Linked DNA regions of Homo sapiens: regions 2 and 3 are each linked to region 1. The links are contacts of gene promoters, found by promoter capture Hi-C in human tissues and cell types (Jung and others, 2019). All regions are on one chromosome and are shown on one strand. The core of a region is centred on a gene start or on the middle of the fragment in contact, and the rest is flanking DNA. Distances in the headings are between cores, read along the strand shown.

Region 1 (2,987 bases), core at 335-2,834:
CTAAGTCCCAGAACATGAGCCGAGCCTTTCCCACATCCACAGTGCCGACTGGGGAGAGGAGGAAACAGGCAAGGCTCATGACCTTGGTCCTCGACACACCCAGTCCCAGCTCTCCCAGGGGATGGGGCAAACCATGCTGGTGCCACTCAAATGAGACTTGAGAGGGGCCCGACAGGGCTGTGGCCACGGGCCAGCTGGACTGTGAATATCACGGCATCCTCAAGGCCCCAAACCCACAGCCTGCTATTGAGACCCTTACTGTTTAGGCCCACGGTGGTGGTGATTTTGGATAGACTCATCCCCTTGTAGTTCTTGTTAAATCGGGTTTTCGACTGCTCCAGGAAGGTCTGAGGAGAGAGGCAGAGGCGAAACACATCAAGGAGGGGCTATACTGGCTTCCAAATATCCTTACTCAGGTCTGTTCTTTAAAAGACAGAAACAGAAACAGAGCAACACTCTGCTCTTCAGGAGGCTGGTGGTGACTATCCTGCCGTCTCAGGTGAAATTTGGCTTCCGTCTGGGTAGTGAACGTGCAGCTGACAGCACAAAACCGAAGGGGGCGCCGCCAGGCCGTGGGAAAGGTGCGCGCAAGGGCGTGGGCACTCACCGTCTTCCCAGCATTGTCCAGGCCCAGGATCAGGATGCAGTACTCGTCCTTCTGAAACATGTACTTGTACAAGCCCGACAGCAGCGTGTACATCCTGCCCTGGGCACCCCAACATAGGTCAGTGTGCAGCCAGAAAGCACCTCCCCTCCCCCGGGCTTCTCCACGGTGGTCAGTGGCGCCCCACGTCCAGCCGACCGCTCAGGACGAGAGCCTGGGGGCCATTCCCGACTCCTCGTCCCTCTCCCACCCCGTCCCTCTGTAACTTCTCCCAGGTCAGCCGCCACTGTGTCCTGCTCACAGCAATGACTGCGACCTCTCCGCATACACATCGGTTCCGGCCCCTCCCCTGCTCGCGGGACTACCCAGCCGGGTGTTCACAGTGAGCTCAGCCGCGCTCCCGCCCTCCCCCGAGGCTTCGCTCCCACGCTTCACGCGCGCGGAACGGGGAACACACTCGCTGCAGCCCCGCCTGGGCCACGGCACCCTCGAGCGCCAGCCCCGCGCCCCACCCGGGAGCAGCGAGCCACCGGCGCGCTCCCCAGGAGCCCCTGCAGGCGCCGGGTAGGGACGCCCCATCACCCCATTTCTTAAAACGGGGACGGCCCTGGGGGGAGCGGACTACAGGGCGGGTGAGCAGCGGCGCGGCTGCTCCTGGAGTGCACCTGGAGGCGGCGCGCGGCTGGCAGGGAACGACTGCGAAGGAAGAACCTGGGTCGCGGCCCCCGGCTACGTCCGCCCCAAGCCGCCGCCGCCAGGTCTGAGGCTCCCCGACAAGCAGCCAAAGCTGGCTCCTGTCACACCCGCGTCCCACCTCGAGTCCTGGGCCGCCCCTCGGGCCTCGCGCCTCACCGCACAGCCTGCGGCCTACCTGCGTCCGCCGCGCCCTCGGAGCCGCTGCTGCTGACCCCCGCTGACCTCCGCTGACCCCGCGCTAACCCCGCGCGGCGCCTGACGGGACGCGGGCCGGCCTCAGGGAATGAGCTGAACCGCGTCCCAGCGGCCTCCGCGCTCCGCTTCCCGGCTGCCCCCGCGCGCCAAGCACTTCCGGAAGCGGCGGCGCTCGGGAGGAAGTGCCGATCGGCTGCTGGGGCGAAAAGGGGGCGCCGGGCCGCTCTAGCCGGTGAGGCCGGCGGGCTCTCTGTGGCTGCGGCTGGGAAACCGCGCGGAGGAGGTGCCCGGCCGGGGACCAGGTGGCCGCGGTTTGCGGGGACGCGGCCCTGGCCAGACAGAAGAGACGCCGGGCGGGGGGGCGCGGCCGGCCTGGAAGGCGGCGGGCGCGGCGGGTGGGCTCGGCGGAGGGTGAGGCGGCGGGGCGCCCCGCGGGGAAGGGGCTCCGGAGTGACGCGGGACCCGGCTAGCGGCGAGCCCACGGCGGCTCGGAAGGGAAGCGCGGAGCCTGAGCGGGGGTACCCGGGCTGCGACCTCTGCGCTGGGAGCTGTGCCTCTGAGCCGGTGTCTCCCCGAGGGAAAGGGGACGTGCCCGTGCCCGTGCCCGCCCTCAGGCTGTGGGGTCGGTCCCGAGACGCGGGGCTCAGCTGGCTTCTCTTCTTGCAGCCCTGGTCCAGCGCCTCCCTCTCTCAGCATGGACGAGGAGAGCCTGGAGTCGGCCTTGCAGACCTACCGTGCGCAGCTGCAGCAGGTGGAGCTGGCCTTGGGCGCCGGCCTGGATTCGTCTGAGCAGGCTGACCTGCGCCAGCTGCAGGGGGACCTGAAGGAGCTCATCGAGCTCACCGAGGCCAGCCTGGTGTCTGTCAGGAAGAGCAGCTTGTTGGCCGCGCTGGACGAAGAGCGCCCGGGCCGCCAGGAAGATGCTGAGTACCAGGCTTTCCGGGAGGCCATCACTGAGGCGGTGGAGGCACCAGCAGCGGCCCGTGGGTCCGGATCAGAGACCGTTCCTAAAGCAGAGGCGGGGCCAGAATCTGCGGCAGGTGGGCAGGAGGAGGAAGAGGGAGAGGACGAGGAAGAGCTGAGTGGGACAAAGGTGAGCGCGCCCTACTACAGCTCCTGGGGCACTCTGGAGTATCACAACGCCATGGTGGTGGGAACGGAAGAGGCGGAGGATGGCTCGGCGGGTGTCCGTGTGCTTTACCTGTACCCCACTCACAAGTCTCTGAAGCCGTGCCCGTTCTTCCTGGAGGGAAAGTGCCGCTTTAAGGAGAACTGCAGGTAAAGCCCTTTGTTGTCAGATGCCAACCTTAGGGGCGTAAGGGGCACGCACACAGGGTCGGGTCAGGATCGGCCCTCCCTTTGCTTTGCAGTTTTGTCTCAGCTTCCTGGGGCAGGCGTGCTTTGACAGCTGTGTCTGTGTTCAGGCGTCTACGTCTTCCTTCTGGGGTGAATCAAGAAGCATGGAAGGAGGCCAGGCGCGGTGGCTCACGCC
Region 2 (2,987 bases), core at 249-2,748, 230 kb after region 1:
CTTGTGGGTGGCGCCCTGCATAGGGGAGCAGGGGGAACGGGTCTGATGTCCCTGTGCTGGCTGAGGGCTCAGAGCTGCCCGCACTCCGTAGCTCATGGGATGTGCTGGGCCTGCCTTTGGCGCCATGCTGCAGACTCCAGTGGGCCTGGTTTCTGCAGAATGTCCATGGTGGCCGCTGCAGAGTTGCAGAGGTCCCTGTAGAGATAAAGCTGAGGAGGAGGCTGTGTGTGATGGCTCTGGCTCGGACCAACCAGATGAGCCTCCTGAAGCCCCCTTCCCTGCCTGCCTGCTGACCCGTGGCCCCAGCTCACTCATTGCCCTCAGCAGCCACCCGAGGCTGTGCAGAAGGGTAGGTTCAGGTTGACCAGGAAGCTGCCAAAAGGGACATGGATATGAGGATACATCTGGACGTGCTTAGGAACAGGGTGCTGGTTGAGGGCCCCCAGCTGACCCCTACTGCAGATCCGCATGTGGACCATGAGCCGGCTGCCAGCACTAGGTCCTGGGCAGCTTTGTTTGTCCCACTTTTCTTTGTTTCTTCTCACTAAAATGATCACGAAGACCTTTGACAAGAGGAGAGATATGCACTGTGATATTAAATTAGAAATAATTTATCAAAATCAGACCTCTCCTAAAAGAATAAGAAATTCATTGTTTGGCCCATCCTGAAAGGTGAGGTGGCGAGACAGTGGGGTGCCTCCGTGCCGCTTCGTGCAGCAGCAAGTTCAGCCTGAGATGCTGGCTGTACTCAGCCTTTGCAATTTTTGTAGATGTAGCTTAGGACGTGAGTTATTTTTCCGCAGACTGGCCAAGAGCCAGGTTCTAAGCTTGGACCTAAGGTAGAAAGCTGCCCATCGGGGGCCCTAGCTCAGCCCCACCAGGCCCTCTGTTGGGCCTGCACACAGCTCTGTGGCTAGAACACTCCAAGGCCCTTCGGTACCCATCAGAGTGGGCCCCTTGCCAGGTGGCTTTTCAGTTACAGAGTCCAGTGGACCATTTTGTAGAACCATGCAGCTCCCTGCGGAAGGTGGGGTAGGGTGGGAAAGAGGAGCAGGTCTGGAGGTTTGTGGAACCCAGTCCCCTGCAGAATCTGTAAAACCTAATAAATCATGGTTGTGGCCATTCTCACGGTGGTGATTGTGATTAGACGACCCCCGGGAAGCCCAGACACTCGGGGCCTGGAGTTCCTCCCCCTGCCTGACCTAGAAGCAGAACCGTTTTCAGCGCTCTGCCCTGTTGGCTTTAAGGCTTTGTCTTAATTTAAGGAAAAAGATCCTCCCGGGTTTTATTTCTCTCTTTCTTGAGTGGACTGTTTCCCTATAATTAAAAGAGGTGGTGAGTCCTGGGGCAGCTTCCGCGCCTCCCTGTCCACGTGCTAACAGATCAGGACGCCCCCAGCACCCCTGCCTGCTTTTGCTGGTGGCAGTGACGGGACCCCGACTCCTCACTCTCGGGCCGCAGACAATGCTGTGAGCAAGTGTGGCCATGGGCACAGAATGTCCCTTTGGACGCCGCTGCTGGGGGCTGCCAGGGGCCCTCTGGGGTCGTGCTTTGAGGCCCGTCCGGTTCACGAGGGGGTCCGGGCAGCACTGACTGCTTCCGACCTGCAGGAGGCGTAGGAGCGGCCCTGCGGGCCCTTTCACGGCAGCTGCTGCTGTATAGATTTGTCTCCACTCAGTGACGTGGGATTTTTTTGTCTTCCTTTTGGCTTTATTTTTAAACTGCTTTAGATATTACTGCTCAGTGTTTGTGAACTTTCCTAGTTCTCTATGTTGTTAGTGCAGCCAGCACCCAGTGGGGACCTACTAGAAAAAGGAACTGGCATGCACACGTGCCCAGCAGGAAAAGCTTCGTCTTCACGTCGGCTGCTGCCATCCAGAAGAGGCCCTGGAGCCTCACGCCGTCGAGGCTGCTCTCAGGCGTTCTGTTCCGGGCGAGGCTTGTGCTGCAAGGAAGGGCACCAGCATGCAGGCTGCCACTGGAGGGTCCGGGTGCTGCGGGCAGAGTTCAGCGCTTGTCCACCCTCCCTTAGCTCTGACTCAGTGCATCCTACTGTGGGGACATCTCGTGAGGGGACACGAAATGACTGATCTCACCCTTTCCCAGTATTCAGAGCTGTGAACCCCTGTGGCGCAGGACTGGCCTGTGTCTGTTATTTTGGTTGTAAATCATTCTCCTGTGGAATTGGCAAAAGCTACATTTTTACTGTCCTTACCAGCAACAGTTTGCGTCGTCACATGCTGTGAGTGTGGGCTGTGGTGTGTCCGTGTGTGTACATATGTGTATATGTATATATCACGCAGCAGGAGTGTCATTCATGCTGCTGTCCCCTGGTGAAGTGACAAGTACAATTAAAGGTGGCTCTGAAATGGCCTCTGGTTTCTTGGGAGTCGGGCAGGGACCTGCAGGAGGCTTTCCCAGCAGGTGCACAGAAGGAAGCGCTGAGCCCACTGTGTGCAGAGGGTGTGTGCCCAGGGCACTGCCACGGCCCCCACCAGCATTGGCCTCTGCTCTGCAGGGTGGGGTGCCCATCCTGGGGGCTGTGTGTCATGCTCACCTGACCCAGGTGTGTGTCCCGGTGTGAAATCGAGGAGGGGACTGGAAGCCCTTCCCTGCCTTGAAACATGAAAGCTGATTTTCTGAGCAGCAGATACGGTCAGTGGCAAAGCTGCATCTGAAGGGCGGCCTGGGAAGGGGCCCTGTGCTGGCCCCGGGTCCGCCCCAGAGGAGTCCACACAGCACCACCTCCAGAAGGGGCTGGGCCCGGGGTCCTGCAGGCGGCACCTTTTGGTAGAGTTTGTTTCCCTGGAAAATGGGGAAAATGTTTCAAGCCAGGTGAGGGGGGAAGTTAACACTGAAATATGTATTGTTTTTAAAAATCAAATGCACACGCATGGAAGCTGCTTGTCCATGCACTGGTTTTGTCACTGGCGTCCTGGAATCCGACCGTGTTGGGGTGCAGGCGCTGTCAGACTCCGGCTGATCCT
Region 3 (2,987 bases), core at 322-2,821, 210 kb after region 1:
ATTTGTATTTTTAGCAATTTTTTTTTTTTGTATAGAATGAGCCAAGGGCATCTAGAGCAAAGAGGTAGTTCCCTGCCCCGTCTCCATCTCCCTGTCTGCACTGTCTCTCCCAGAGGTGTTTGCTGGTGCCTTCTTTGCAGTTCCCTGTGCTGTGTCATGCCCGTTTGCTGACCCAGCCCCTGCTGTGTCTTCCCCATCCCAGTGTGACTGTCGCTCTTGGTAGTTCCTCCGTGTTTCCTTTGTTTCCTTAGGTGACTTGTCTTTGCCCCACTCCCTGCAGTCCGCAGCACCTGTTGTCTCCTTCCCTCTCCTCCCGCTTCTCCTCAGACGTCATCTGTTCTTTCTAGAGTTGTTCCCCTTGCCCCAGGGTCCAGGGTTCCTAACAGCCTGTTTTTTTTCTTTCTTTTTTTTTTTTTAGTGAGACAGAGTCTCGCTCTGTTGCCCAGGCTGGAGTGCAGTGGTGCGGTCTCAGCTCACTGCAGCCTCTGCCTCCTGGGTTCAAGTGATTCTCCCGCCTCAGTCTTCTGAGTAGCTGGGACTATAGGCGTGCACTACCATACCTGGCTGATTTTTGTATTTTTATTTTTTATTTATTGTTGAGACAGGGTCTCTTTGTTGCCCAAGCTGGAGTGCAGTGGTGCCATCTTGGCTCACTGCAACCTCCACCTCCTGGGTTCAAGTGATTCTCCTGCCTCAGCCTCCCAAGTAGCTTACAGTAGGGATTGCGGGCACCTACGACCACGCCCAGCTAATTTTGTATTTTTAGTACAGATAGGGTTTCACCATGTTGACCACCTGGTCTCAAACTCCTGACCTCAGGGGATCCGCCCACCTTGGCCTCCCAAAGTGCTGGGATTGCAGGCGTGAGCCACCGCGCCAGGCCCTAACAGCCACCTTCTTAGCATCTGTATATTCAGACCGTCCATTGCAGGATGTGTGATCTTTGTGGCCTGGAATGTCTCTCTCTGAGCACTCCATCCTCCCACCCCTCAGGCAGTGTCTCTTGAGGCCACCTGCCCAGCCACCATCTTGGGGGGACCACAGGAGGCTGGGGAGAGAGCGAGGCAGTAGTGAGAAGCCGGGACGCTCACCGTTGGCCGAGTACCTTAGAGCAGCCCTGACGCCTGCTTCTGTCTCTTGGTGAAAGTGGCGCCCAGACTTCAGTCCTTACAGCCCAGAACTCAGAACCGTGGAGGTGCTGTGACCCACAGGGTTTACCTTGTAATTGTTGTTAAAACCCTTCTGGGCTTCATAATGGAATGCTTATGTTGAAATATTATTTTAAGTACTATTATCTATGATGTGGTTAGAAATGCCAAAGAATTTTTAGCTTTTTTGAGACGGAGTCTTGCTCTGTTGCCCAGGCTGGAGTGTAGTGGCGCGATCTCCGCTCACTGCAAGCTCCCCCTCCTGGGTTCACGCGATTCTCCCGCCTCAGTCTTCCGAGTCGCTGGGACTACAGGCGCCTACCACCATACCTGGCTAATTTTTTTTGGTATTTTTTGTAGAGACGGGGTTTCACGACGTTACCCAGGATGGTCTCGATCTCCTGACCTCGTGATCCACCCGCCTCGGCCTCCCAAAGTGCTGGGATTACAGGCATGAACCACCGTGCCCGGCCTTTTTTTTTTTTTTTGGTAGATGGAGTCTCGCTCTGTCGCCCAGGCTGGAGTGTGGTGGCGTGATCTTGGCTCACTGCAGCCTCCACCTCCCTAGTTCAAACGATTCTTCTGCTTCAGCCTGCTGAGTAGCTGGGATTACAGGCACCTGCCACCACGCCCTGCTAATTTCTGTATTTTTAGCAGAGATGGGGTTTCACTGTGTTGCCCAGGCTGGTCTCAAACTCCTGACCTCAGGTGATCTGCCCTCCTCGGCCTACCAAAATGTTGGGATTACAGGTGTGAACCACCACGCCCGGCCAGAGTGTGTAGCTTTTGTAAAAGTTTTGGAAATGGCCTCAGATAATTTCAGAGGTTTTTAAATAAAGAACGCTCAAAATGGAGCAAAATGGAGAGCCCCTGATAGGCCTCCTGCGTGGAGGTTTGCAGTAAGCCAGAGGCACCTGTGGGTCCCAGGGAGAGACGGGCTGCTCCATGGATGCTCCTGGGACCTGGGGCACTGGGTGGGCCTCAGGCAGATAGGAGCTGGTCCGTATCTCTTGCCAAGCCCAGGCCAACTCCTGATGAAGCAGATTCCTGTGGGTGACAAGTGTCAGAAGATAGAATAGGACCTTAGGGTCAGGAAGGATTTCTTGAACAAAAAAGGGGAAAAACAGATTGAGAGATTCAGAAAGCTGTAATATATTCTGTGACCTCAAAGGTGACTTGGAGGAGGGCTGTTGTTCAGCGACGGGCGTGTAGTGAACACTGGGGCATTTAAACGGTTCAGATGCTGAATTTAATGTTATATGTTTTTTACTACAATTGGTAAAAAAAAAAAAAAAAGCTTGTGCTCATCAAAAGACACACCATAATAAGTAAAAAAAGAACTGTGAACTGGAAGATACTTGTAACATTTTTAACCAGTGAAGGGTCGGTGTCCTGGATATGTCCACTGGGCACCACAGACAGAACGGCCTTGAAGGTAGGCTGGAGACGCCTACCCTTATCAGGCCAGGCAAGCACTGGGGAGCCTGGCCGTACCAGTCATTGTTGAGGCTGCAGGAATGGCAGGGAGCCCTAAGTTCCAGTGGCCACTGGTGCAGTCCTCAGAGAGCAGTTGGCACACCGCCTCAGGCTGAGCCTGCCCATTCTTGGGCACCCAGAAGTTCCACTCTTAGGTATACACCAGAAGAATTCTTCCTCGACTGTTTGTGCTGAAGGACAAGGTTTAAGTTTTTAAAATTTCCAGTGTCACAGACTGATGATATTTTTGTAAACTACAACAAAAGTGACTAGCTAGTAAAGGAAATCACAGAACATAAAATACAAACCCATGTCATTATTATTAATATTTTGAGGCAGAGTCTCGCTTTGTCACTCAGACTG

What was found. Contacts are between HindIII fragments. The study calls those that stand out against the background at their distance.
Region 2: a contact is called between a fragment that was not itself captured here and the fragment with the promoter of ARFRP1 in region 1, in 1 of the 25 tissues and cell types used here (dorsolateral prefrontal cortex).
Region 3: a fragment that was not itself captured here is called in contact with the fragment with the promoter of ARFRP1 in region 1 in 2 of the 25 tissues and cell types used here (IMR-90 fibroblasts and heart right ventricle).

Annotation. Positions count from the first base shown.
Region 1 is chr20:63,706,392-63,709,378 of GRCh38, forward strand. ARFRP1 (ARF related protein 1) reads right to left here and starts at 1,585. Exons shown (of 8, transcript NM_001267547.3): 1 at 1,476-1,585; 2 at 608-706; 3 at 260-347; 4 at 1-48. The coding sequence starts at 700. ZGPAT (zinc finger CCCH-type and G-patch domain containing) reads left to right here and starts at 1,648. Exons shown (of 7, transcript NM_181485.3): 1 at 1,648-1,727; 2 at 2,162-2,773. The coding sequence starts at 2,190. RefSeq lists enhancers at 651-710, 1,573-2,533 and silencers at 861-910, 1,001-1,240, 1,661-1,720, 1,761-1,920. The HindIII fragment of the contact is 11,218 bases long and covers 1,036-2,987 here.
Region 2 is chr20:63,932,921-63,935,907 of GRCh38, forward strand. DNAJC5 (DnaJ heat shock protein family (Hsp40) member C5) reads left to right here. Exons shown (of 5, transcript NM_025219.3): 5 at 1-2,987. Among named protein-coding and RNA genes, the nearest start is that of MIR1914, 7.1 kb to the right of the region's middle. The HindIII fragment of the contact is 5,774 bases long and covers 1-2,987 here.
Region 3 is chr20:63,912,996-63,915,982 of GRCh38, forward strand. All of the region lies in intron 1 of DNAJC5 (DnaJ heat shock protein family (Hsp40) member C5), which reads left to right. Among named protein-coding and RNA genes, the nearest start is that of MIR941-1, 5.0 kb to the right of the region's middle. The HindIII fragment of the contact is 7,543 bases long and covers 1-2,987 here.